Regions from separate parts of the Homo sapiens genome. Here region 2 is linked to region 1. Evidence: promoter capture Hi-C in 16 types of primary human blood cells and fetal thymus (Javierre and others, 2016). All regions are on one chromosome and are shown on one strand. The core of a region is centred on a gene start or on the middle of the fragment in contact, and the rest is flanking DNA. Distances in the headings are between cores, read along the strand shown. Region 1 holds the start of ZFAND4 (zinc finger AN1-type containing 4). Region 2 has its middle 19 kb from the start of ALOX5.

Evidence for each region. Contacts are between HindIII fragments. The CHiCAGO score rates a contact against its expected background, and 5 or more counts as called.
Region 2: a fragment that was not itself captured here is called in contact with the fragment with the promoter of ZFAND4 in region 1 in 4 of 17 cell types (naive B cells, M1 macrophages, neutrophils and 1 more); the score reaches 8.0 in naive B cells.

Annotation. Positions count from the first base shown.
Region 1 is chr10:45,670,737-45,675,892 of GRCh38, reverse strand. ZFAND4 (zinc finger AN1-type containing 4) reads left to right here and starts at 3,121. Exons shown (of 10, transcript NM_174890.4): 1 at 3,121-3,643. RefSeq lists a silencer at 2,819-3,538. The HindIII fragment of the contact is 4,202 bases long and covers 1-3,906 here.
Region 2 is chr10:45,352,542-45,357,761 of GRCh38, reverse strand. No RefSeq gene overlaps it. Among named protein-coding and RNA genes, the nearest start is that of ALOX5, 19 kb to the left of the region's middle. The HindIII fragment of the contact is 2,048 bases long and covers 1,966-4,013 here.

The DNA.
Region 1 (5,156 bases), core at 1,872-4,371:
AGTGATTCTCCTGCCTTAGCCTCCTGAGTAGCTGGGACTATAGGCACGCGCTACCACGCCCAGCTAATTTTTGTGCTTTTAGTAGAGACAGGGTTTTGCCATGTTGGCCAGGATGTTCTCGACCTCCTGACCTTGTGATCCACCCGCCTCCGCTTCCCAAAGTGCTGGGATTACAGTCATGAGCCACCACGCTTGGCCACATTTAAATCTTTAATAAATTTTTATTGGATTTTCGTTTGGCAAACTATGCTACCCCCCCCCCCCCACTGTCTGATCTTGTTAATAAAGTTTTATTGGAACACAACCACATTCATTGATTTACTTACTTTCTATTGTTGCTTTCACCCTACCTCCAATGTAAGAGTTGAGTAATTATGACGAGACCGGATGGCTCACAGAGCCTCAGATGTTTTCTATCTGCCCCTTTTATTTATTTTTTTGAGACGGAGTCTTGCTCTGTCACCCAGGCTGGAGTGCAGTCATGTGATCTTGGCTCACTGCAACCTCTATTTCCTGGGTTGAAGCGATGCTCCTGCCTCAGCCTCCCGAGTAGCTGGGATTACAGGCGCCTGCCATCACACCCAGCTAATTTTTGTATTTTTAGTAGAGTTGGGGTTTCACCATGTTGGCCAGGTTGGTCTTGAACTCCTGACCTCGTGATCCACCTGCCTCGGCCTCCCAAAGTGCGGGGATAACAGGCGTGAGCCACTGCGCCTGGCCCTGCCCCTTTACATAAACAGTTCGCTGACCATTGCTCTAAGGCATTCTGTTCCATTCTTGCCTTGTGGAAGCAGCAGAATGAACCTAGGTAATAGCCGGGGGAAGTGCTGAGGATAGAAATGTCAGCCTCTAGAGCAGCACTGCCCCATAGAACTCTGCAGGAATGAAAATTTTCTTTATCTGCATCGTCAAAGGCAGTAGCCACTAGCCACCTGGATGGCTGACCCCATTCTAGTCTGTGTTTTTTGGTGCTCTGTCGTCTTGCTGCTGACTATTCAGCCTGTCACCATGGTGCAGTCTTGTAGGCCGCCCAGGTTGGTCTCAGCGATCCTGGAGCTACTGACTTCTTCCTTGGGCACTGTAAGATCAGACAGGGAATTACTCATACCCAGAGTCAAAGATTTTGTTCAGCTCCCACAGGTCAACCATTTGCCCAAGTCTGCTGTGAGAGTGACGTGATGACAGATGAGGGCACTTGCTAGTTGGCCACTCCTTTCCCCTATTCATTTTATGCATCTTCCTTCTGTCCGTAGGTTATTTGTGCACATAGTTTCTTGCTGTAGTACCCAATGTCGGTCAGAGTCAGCATTTGTTAAATACGATGATTTTCTTTTGGAACAACTAAATCTACTCATCAATCAGTAGGATTGGTTTCAGGGGATTCAGGAGACAACAGGTTTAGAAAATACGCAAGCTGCTATTTTGAGAGGCTTGAAAGGGAGAGAGAACTTACGTTAAAAAAAAGTTCCTATGGTAACAACTTTTAATGCTATTTTATTCAGTCTCCATGGTCTATCAGATAGGTAATGTAGTAACACTAATTTTACAGATAAAGCTAAAATCTGGAAGCAATGTGGAATAATGGAACAAGGTTGGATTTTTGTATTGTGTCCTAGTTTAAATATGGCTTTCCGACATAGAGCTGTTTGATTATAGGTAAATTGTTCTACTTTAATTGGCTTTTGTTTACTCCTTTGTAGACGAGGGATTTCACTACCAACTTTGCAGGATTGTGATGGGGAGAGAATACGTAAAGACCCTTATCAACTATCTGGCACTTGAAGAATGGCAGATGATAATGATGATGATGTTGTAAAGAATGAATGACTTGGCCAGGTAATGGAGCTTCTGGTATTGGGAGGCAAGGCTTTAAACACACCTGCCTGACTCCACGGTCCATGCTGTCAATTCTCCAGTGTGAATGAAGTGGGCAGGCAAGGGTGAGAAACGCTAAGGTTTTTACTCAGTAAGTCTCCATCACAGGCCCTATTCTAGGCTCAGGAATGCAAAGATGATTACCATCATAGCTCTGTCCTCAAAGGTCTCCAATCTATTTAGCATTAAGCATATGTGGAGTTTCAGAAGGAACCAACGGCGAGACTGGTGAATCAATGCCCAGTGCCTCACCATACTCCCCCAGTGTATGCTCAATAGTTCGTTGAACTGTGGAGATAAGTTGGTGGGTAGGGTCTCAGAAGAATGAGAGAGGACAGGAGACACAGATTAGATGTTTAGTTTCATATTAGACTGGCTCCTCTGAGCCAGAAGTCGAGGATGAGTGAACCCGCAGTGGGAGTGAGATGACATTCTTTGTCAGCTGAGTAACCCACTTAGTGAAGGAGGTTCACGGAGTTGGAAAATCGGTAGGGGGAACGGAACGAGGCAGTGGGCTCCCATGTTAGGTTGAAAGGCAGGTGTTGGCTTGAAGCCAGTTACTGTTTACACCGCAGCTCAGCAGCTTGGAAACTGGAGCAGGAGGTGTGGCTGGGCTTACCCAACGCTGGGATTTGAGCCCAGGGTGCCTACTCCATTGCCTGGCCTACAGTTCTCAGTAAATTGTATGAGGACTACAGAAAGTTATCTGTTTTCGCCTTTGTCTTCAAGCAGGCACGGTAATGCCCCCATTTTCCAGATGAGGCAATTGAGGCCAGAAACATTAGGGGACGGTGAAGCCTAAAGCAGATTTGTTAGGACAGGCCGGCCCAAACGCACCAGGAGCGCCCCTCACTCTGGAGAGGCCACCGACTGGACAGCGTCTGCCTGTATCGCCTATCTCCAGCAAATCAGGCGCCTGGAAGAGGATCCCCGGTGGGTCTCACGGAGGGCGGCTCCGGCTTCAACCCCGCCGTTCCCAGCAGGCCATGCGGCTGCCCTCCAGACGCCCGCGTGGGCACGAGTCAGGGGTCCAGTGTTGCTAGTAATAAAAGATCAACATCCGGGCCTCGTAACTCACAACCTCCAGCGAATGCCAAGAAGGCCCCAGGGCCCTGGCGCCCCGGCAACCGCCCACGTCCGGGGGCCAGGCCTGCCCCCGCCCGCGCTGATTGGAGGGCAGCGAAAGCGCCGTCCAGCGATTGGTAGGTGGTGTCACAAAGGGGCGGGGCGCGGCGGCAGCGGAGCGTTGTCGGCCAGTGCCTTCCGTGAAGTTGCTCGCCGGGTCGTTGGGCCCTGTCGACCTGTAGGCGGGCGAGCGAGCCAGCGGACAAGACTGCGGGTGAGGCTGAGCTAGCGAGCGGCCGGCAGGGGGGGCGCCCGGGCTGCGAGCCGCTGAGCCCAGCCGCGCTGCCGCCGCCGGCCGTCGTGGGGCCGGAATGGCGCAAGGCCGGAGTGGCGCGGGCGCTCGGCGCTGGGCTGCCGGGTAGAGTCCTGTCCCCGCCCCTCGCCTTGCGGCCTGACGCCGGCCGCTGCTGCCCGGGGACCGGAGCGGCGGGCCGCCTTTGCCCAGGACACACGCTCTGGCGTTTGTTCCTTTGGGCGTGACGCCAGCTTCAACGGGTACGCGGCTTTCCCGACGGGTGCTGATCTCCGAGTCGCTGTTGTCACGCGGACTGCTGTCCTCCAGATTCAGGCCGGTGGGTCTGGGGAGCCCGGATTGGTCTTGGAGGAGCAACGGCTGCGCAGGTGACTCGGTGGCCTCAAGTGTGTAGGTACCTGGATGGCGCGAGGAGATGCTGGCTCTGAAATACTTCCCAATTCCGCTTGCAGATGAACTCCGGACTAGAGTTTAGGCTACAGACAAGTTAGGCGGTTGATGTGATTCTGTAGCTCGTATTTCGAACTTTAGGGATGTTTTGATGTATCAGTAAATGTAGATCTGTGTCACAGTTTTAATGGCAGCTTCACATTCCGGATATCTTTATGTTGGGGAAAATGTTTCAAAGGTAACTGCTCTTCTGTAGCTAAGCTTCTTTAGAGCAGAGGTTGGAGAAAATTCTGAGTTACTGAAATTACGTATTCAGCGCTATTGCCTGTTTACCTTTAACTTCCATTTCATCCTTGGAGTTGTGTTTTTAGAAACTTTTCAGAAGAAATGAGAGAAATGCTTTGGGAATTGATTTTTTTTTTTTTTTTAAGTTCTAGGGTACATGTGCACAACGTGCAGGTTTGGTACATAGCTATACATGTGCCATGTTGGTTTTCTGCACCGACTAACTCGTCATTTATATTGCGTATTTCTCTTAATGCTATCCCTCCCCCCATCTCACTCCCCACGACAGGCCCCAGTGTGTGATGTTCCCCTCCCTGTGTCCAAGTGTTCTCATTGTTGAGTTCCCATCTATGAGTGAGAACATGGCGGTGTTTGGTTTTCTGTCCTTGTGACAGTTTGCTGAGAATGATGGTTTCCAGCTTCATCCATGTCCATGCAAAGGACATGAACTCATCCTTTTTTTATGGCTGCATAGTATTCCATGGTGTATATGTGCCACATATTCTTAATCCACTCTATCACTGATGGACATTTGGGTTGGTTCCAAGTCTTTGCTGTTGTGAATTGTGCCACAGTAAACATACGTGTGCATGTGTCTTTATAGTGGCATGATTTATAATCCTTTGGGTATATACCCAGTAATGGGATCGCTGGGTCAAATGGTATTTCTAGTTCTAGATCCTTGAGGAATTGCCACACTGTTTTCCACAACGGTTGAACTAATTTACAGTCCCACCAACAGTGTAAAAGTGTTCCTATTTCTACACATCCTCTCCAGCATCTGTTGTTTCCTAACTTTCTAATGATCGCCATTCTAACTGGTGTGAGATGGTATCTCACTGTGGTTTTGATTTGCATTTTTCTGATGACCAGTGATGATGAGTGTTTTTTCATGTGTCTGTTGGCTGCATAAATATCTTCTTTTGAGAACTGTCTGTTCATATCCTTTGCCCACTTTTTGATGCGGTTGTTTTTTTCTTGAAAATTTGTCTAAGTTCTTTGTAGATTCTGGATATTAGCCCTCTGTCAGATGGGTAGATTGCAAAATTTTTTTCCCATTCTGTAGGTTGCCTGTTCACTCTGATGGTAGTTTCTTTTGCTGTGCAGAAGCTCTTTAGTTTAATTAGATCCCATTTGTCTATTTTGGCTTTTGTTGCCATTGCTTTTGGTGTTTTAGTCATGAAGTCCGTGCTCATGCCTATGTCCTGAATGGTATTGCCTAGGTTTT
Region 2 (5,220 bases), core at 1,740-4,239, 320 kb after region 1:
TTTACTGGAGAGTATAGTCCATTTACATTCAATATTATTATTGACAAATAAGGACTTGCTTGCCATTTTGTTATTTATTTTCTGGTTGTTTTGTGATCTTCTCTCCCATCTTTTCTTACTTCCTGTCTCCTTTTTAGTGAAAGTATTTTTTTTGGTGGTATGTTTTAATTTCTTGCTCTTCACTTTTTGTGTATACATTGTATGTTTTTAAATTTGAGGTTACTATGAGGCTTGCAAATACTATCTTATAACCCATTATTTTATGCTGATGAAAACAACACTGATTGCATAAATAAATACACAATCAAGCAAAAAGAAAACTAAAAAAACCTCTACATTTTAACTTTATTTATATGCTTTTAAGCTTTCTGTTATTTATATATCTTATTATACTGTCTTGAAAAGCTGTTGTAATTGTTTTTTAATCAGTTCATCTTTTCCTCTTTCTACTTATGATATAAGTAGCTTACACACCATAATTACAGTGTTATAATATTCTGTGTTTTTTGAGGACTTATTATCATCTGAAGGTACAGTGAGTTTTGTACCTTCAGATGATTTCCTGTTGCTTGTTAATGTTCTTTCTTTCAGATTGAACTCCCTTTAGTATTTCTTGTAAGACAGGTTTGGTGTTGATGAAATCCCTGTTTATTTGATTATTTTTCCTTCTGGTACAAATCTATTGTTCATTTCCTCTAGCAAAATGTTCTTATTGTTGTTATTTTACTTTTAAACCCCAGAATTTCCATTTGGTTAATTAACTTTTGAAAAAATATTTTTAATCTATTATTGGTATTTTTGAATTGACAAGAAATTATCATACCATCTTTTATTTTTTAAGCACATTTTCTTTTAGTTTTTGAACATATTTATAATAATTACTTTGAGGTTTTTTTTCTGCTATGTCTGACATCTTGGCACTCACAAAGGCAGTTTCTCTTGCTTACCTTTTTTCTGGTGTATGGCTCTGTCTTTTCCATATCTCTGCTTGACTCATAATTTTTTTGTTCAAAAATATGTTCTAGCTAGTTGCAATACTCATTTCTGCCCCCCTCACTATGTTACTGTTGTTTAATTGTTTATTTGTTTAATTGCCTGGCTAGACTATATAGTGAAGCCTATTTCCACCATAATTTGTGGCCTCTGATGTTGTTCCTGAGGGAGTCACAGCACTGGGCACATTTTCTCTCAAATTGGAATTACAGTGCATTTAGCAGTGCTCTCTTTGACTGCCTCTTTCTCTGATCTGTTCAGTTGTTTGCCTCTTTTGGTATCATACCCAACTGTTAACCTCCAGCAATTGCTAGATAATTGCTCTTTTGGTTTTGACAGCTTTTTAGGGGCATAAATTGCTCCACAGTCTGATCCAAATATATTTTGCTTCCTTTGCAGGAGCAGTTTTTCAGACAAGACTTTGATGTTTGTTTTAACCTCAGGAAGGCCCTTCTTGGCTCTCTCTTTCTTGGATTTTTATTGTATATGTCTAGCTGGTTTATGGTTTAGTTTGTTGCTCTCACTAAGCTGCCATTAACCTATTAATTGCTTACCACCAAAATATTCATTGTTTTTGACAGTGCCCTTAGGCTTGAACTTCCGCATGTTCTGTTGCAAATAAAGTTTGTCCCTTTAGGGAGAACTAGAGACTTTTCTTCTTATGGCCTACTTCTCCCTCTAGGCAGGTCCTCTAGTCTCCCTACTGCCTCTACTGCCACTACTCTGCAGGTGGTTTTGGGGACAGTGTCATGCTTTTCTCAGATGTCTTTCCTTCTTTATGGGTGGGGTACTGGATTGGGCAGTAATTTCTGTTTTTCTGCCTTTTCTGGAATGGAAACTTCACTCCTCCCATGGAATCTCTGCCCTATGAGTGTAGCGGAGCAAGGACATTCAGCATCAGTATTCTTGGCCCGTGGCACTGGGGATAGAACTTACGCCTTAATAGTAGAGGCTGAGTGGAAGAAGGAAGCTTCAGATTCTCAGTCAAACTTTCTTGGAATAGAACTTCTGCAACATAGAGCCAGAGATGGGCTTGGGAAATGCTGGTAGTCTGCCCTAGATTGGGAGCTGAGGGGAAAGGGCACCCTGTCTTTTTGGCTGCACATCTCTGGAGCAGGGTTTCTGTTTCACTGAACTGATTGCAGGAGAGGGAGGAAATGAACAGAACTTAAACACCATAGACTCAACACCATAGACTCTCACTCCTCTCACTGAAATTGGTAGGCTTTCTTGGATTTCTTCATTTGCTGTCGGCCCTTAGAACAATTTCCAATACTCTAACATTTTTTTATTTTGTTTGTTTTTAATTTTCACCGGTTATGGTTGTTTTACTCTGGAGAATGTCTGCAGAGCTCTTCAGATAGTCATTCTGTAAGTGCTTCTCTCATAATTGATTTCCAACACCTGAAGAGTGAATTCCCTTTTTCAGATGAAATCTTACAAGGAAGCAGATAAAAGTGGAGACATACTGGTTGAACATAAAGTGAACTAACAAACACAGGGCTGGAAGTTCTGATTGATTGACTTTTTTCTTGTTGTTTTTCCATATTCTCCTTCACCTTCATCTTCCAAGCCCTAGATGTAGATGAGAACACTGTTGGAGAATCATTTACCTTTGGGATGAAGTGGATCAGGTCCACTCAGATAGTACAGAATAATGTCCTTTAAATAGAGTCAACTGATTGTAGAGGTTAATTGCGACTACAAAATACCTTCACAGCAATACCTAGATCAGTGCTTGGTTGAATAGTTGAGTACTACAGCCTGACCAAGTTGACAAGCAAAACTGACAATCACACCATGCTTCAGCCACTGTGAAGAGCTTCAACCATGGTTTTTCCTGAGCAGTTTACATCTTCTCATTCCCATGAAATCTTGGCACATTTCCTTCCCTTCATCTGGAGTGCTGCTATCCTTCTCCTCTGTGTTCTAATCTCCTCCTGCACAAATGTTGCTTTTTCCGTGGAGCCCTCCATGACTCTTTCAGGCAGAGTGAGTTGCTCCTTTTCTGAGCTCCCACAACCTTTGTTTAAGCCCATATTTTGGCCCATCGTCACTTGTCCCACCAGTATTTGCTTCTGTCTCCATTCCCCCACCATATTCTGAGCTAACTGAGGGCAGGGACTATGTTTTATGTATTTCTTGATCTCCAGCCTGATGCCAGGAGAAAAGCAGCTGTAAATGTATCCTAGTAGGTAGGTTAAGTTTCCAGGGAGCCTGCAACTTGCTATGAAACTATCGTTTTTGTGGTTGGCAAAGCAGACACGCAGCATAAGGCTAAGCTCAAGAGAGCAACCCTAAGTTCCCCCCAGCTGACCGCATGATCTCCTGACTCATGGAGTGGAACTTGTGGCATGTCCACAGGAAGCCCTGGAGCCACTGTCCCCATGACAGCAGCAGGACAAATGTACTTCTTCAGCAGGACAAAATAGTGCTGGTCCTTTTGCTGGTCAGGAAAGTGACTTTCCTGACAGTCACTTTCCTCCAGAGGGTATCTTGTGTGACTACATCTTCTTTTGGCCAGCTTCAAACATTTATAGCCTATTTCAGTTTCTTCTGGCCTGTTTGCATAACTAAACAGAATTAAGCCCTGTCTACCACTGAGCACTAAAAAGAAAAACATATTCATTGGGGATTTAGAGAAAGAAAGAATAAGAAATCAATTGTCAAGACTCTATTTTCCCAGCTCTACTCTAGGACAGAGGAAGCTCATAGCCCTAACAGACTTTTCCTTAGGATGGATGTTGACAGCTCCTCCCAGCCCACTCCTTGTTTAGTTTTCATTTGTTCTATCCCAGGAAGATTCAGAGGAAGAGGGATACATCTTAAGATGTCTCTGTAACTTTGTAAGGATGCTGCTGAAAAGATAATGATGAAATGTTGATTGCAGCTTCTTTTTAAAAATTTTTATTGATACATAATATTTGTACATATTTATGGGGTACATATGGTATTTCGTTACACGCATAGACTGTGTAATGATCAAGTCAGGATATTTAGGGTATCCATTACCTCAAGCTTTTGTCATTTCTATGTGTTGGGAACATTTCAAATCTTCCTGTCTAGCTATTTTGGAGTATACAATATATTACTGTTAACTATAGTTCTCCTACTCTGCTGTCAAACATTAGAACTTATACCTTCTATCTAACTATATGTTTGTACCCATTAAGCAACCTCTCTTAACACCCCCACCCACAACTGTTCCCAGTCTCTGATAACCATCATTCTATTCTCCTTGAAATGCATGTTTTTAGTTCCCACATGAGTAAGAATATGCAACATTTGTGTTTCTACGCCTGGTTTATTTCCCTCCAGTTCCATTCATGTTGCTTATTGTGGCTTCTTGAGTCTGAGTTCAGAGCTGAGTCATTTTTGGGTGAGTTTCCCCTAATCTTCCACCTCCTTGTGCCTTTCAGAACAAGACCAGGCTTTTGCCTCTTGGCTTCTTTCCCTTCCTGCAAGGCTGTGCCATCAGAAGTAGGCAGGGCAGCCAATGCTATCTTTCCATGGCATGTGCTTTCTTAAGTAGATTTACCATCCATGGCTCAGTTCAACTACTCTGTTGCACTTAGGAAGTTAAGGAGCATTCTTCTCATTGGAACTTCTTGACTAAGTGGAAAGATACACTTCAATCCATGACACACACAAGACTCAAATAGGCTTGATGTATTTGTGATTAGTGTGAACTCAATTCTTGTTTTTTCAGAAGGAAGACCAATTCTCATACTCATCTTGAAACCCGTCTGACATTGTTCCTCCCAAGATTAGATAATCACGACAGAGCACCTCTACTCCTAACTGAACACGCATAAAATAAATAATTCCATCCCAGTCTGAGTGCGGGTCTCTCCCCAGAGGTCTACCCTGATTCTCTGCATGAAAGAGCCACTGGTTATTCTCCTCCCTTTATGCTGCGGGAGGCTAATTGCACTCACCACTACCTAGTACTGTTTTTAACTTTTCCTGTTTATTGCCTGTGTCTCCCACTAGAGGCTGAGTGATATGCGATGTGATCTTCTCAGTTTTGTTCACTTTTACATGTTATCCCCACAACAAGGTTTGTGGTGAGGCGTGGGTGGGAAAAAGGGAAATAATTCCTTCCTTCTTTCCTTCGTTCTGTCTCTCCTTTCTTTCTTTCTTTCTTTCTCTTTCTCTCTTTCTTTCTTTTTCTTTCTTTCTTTCTTTTTTTCTTTCTTTCTTTCTTTCTTCCCTTCTTTCTTTCTT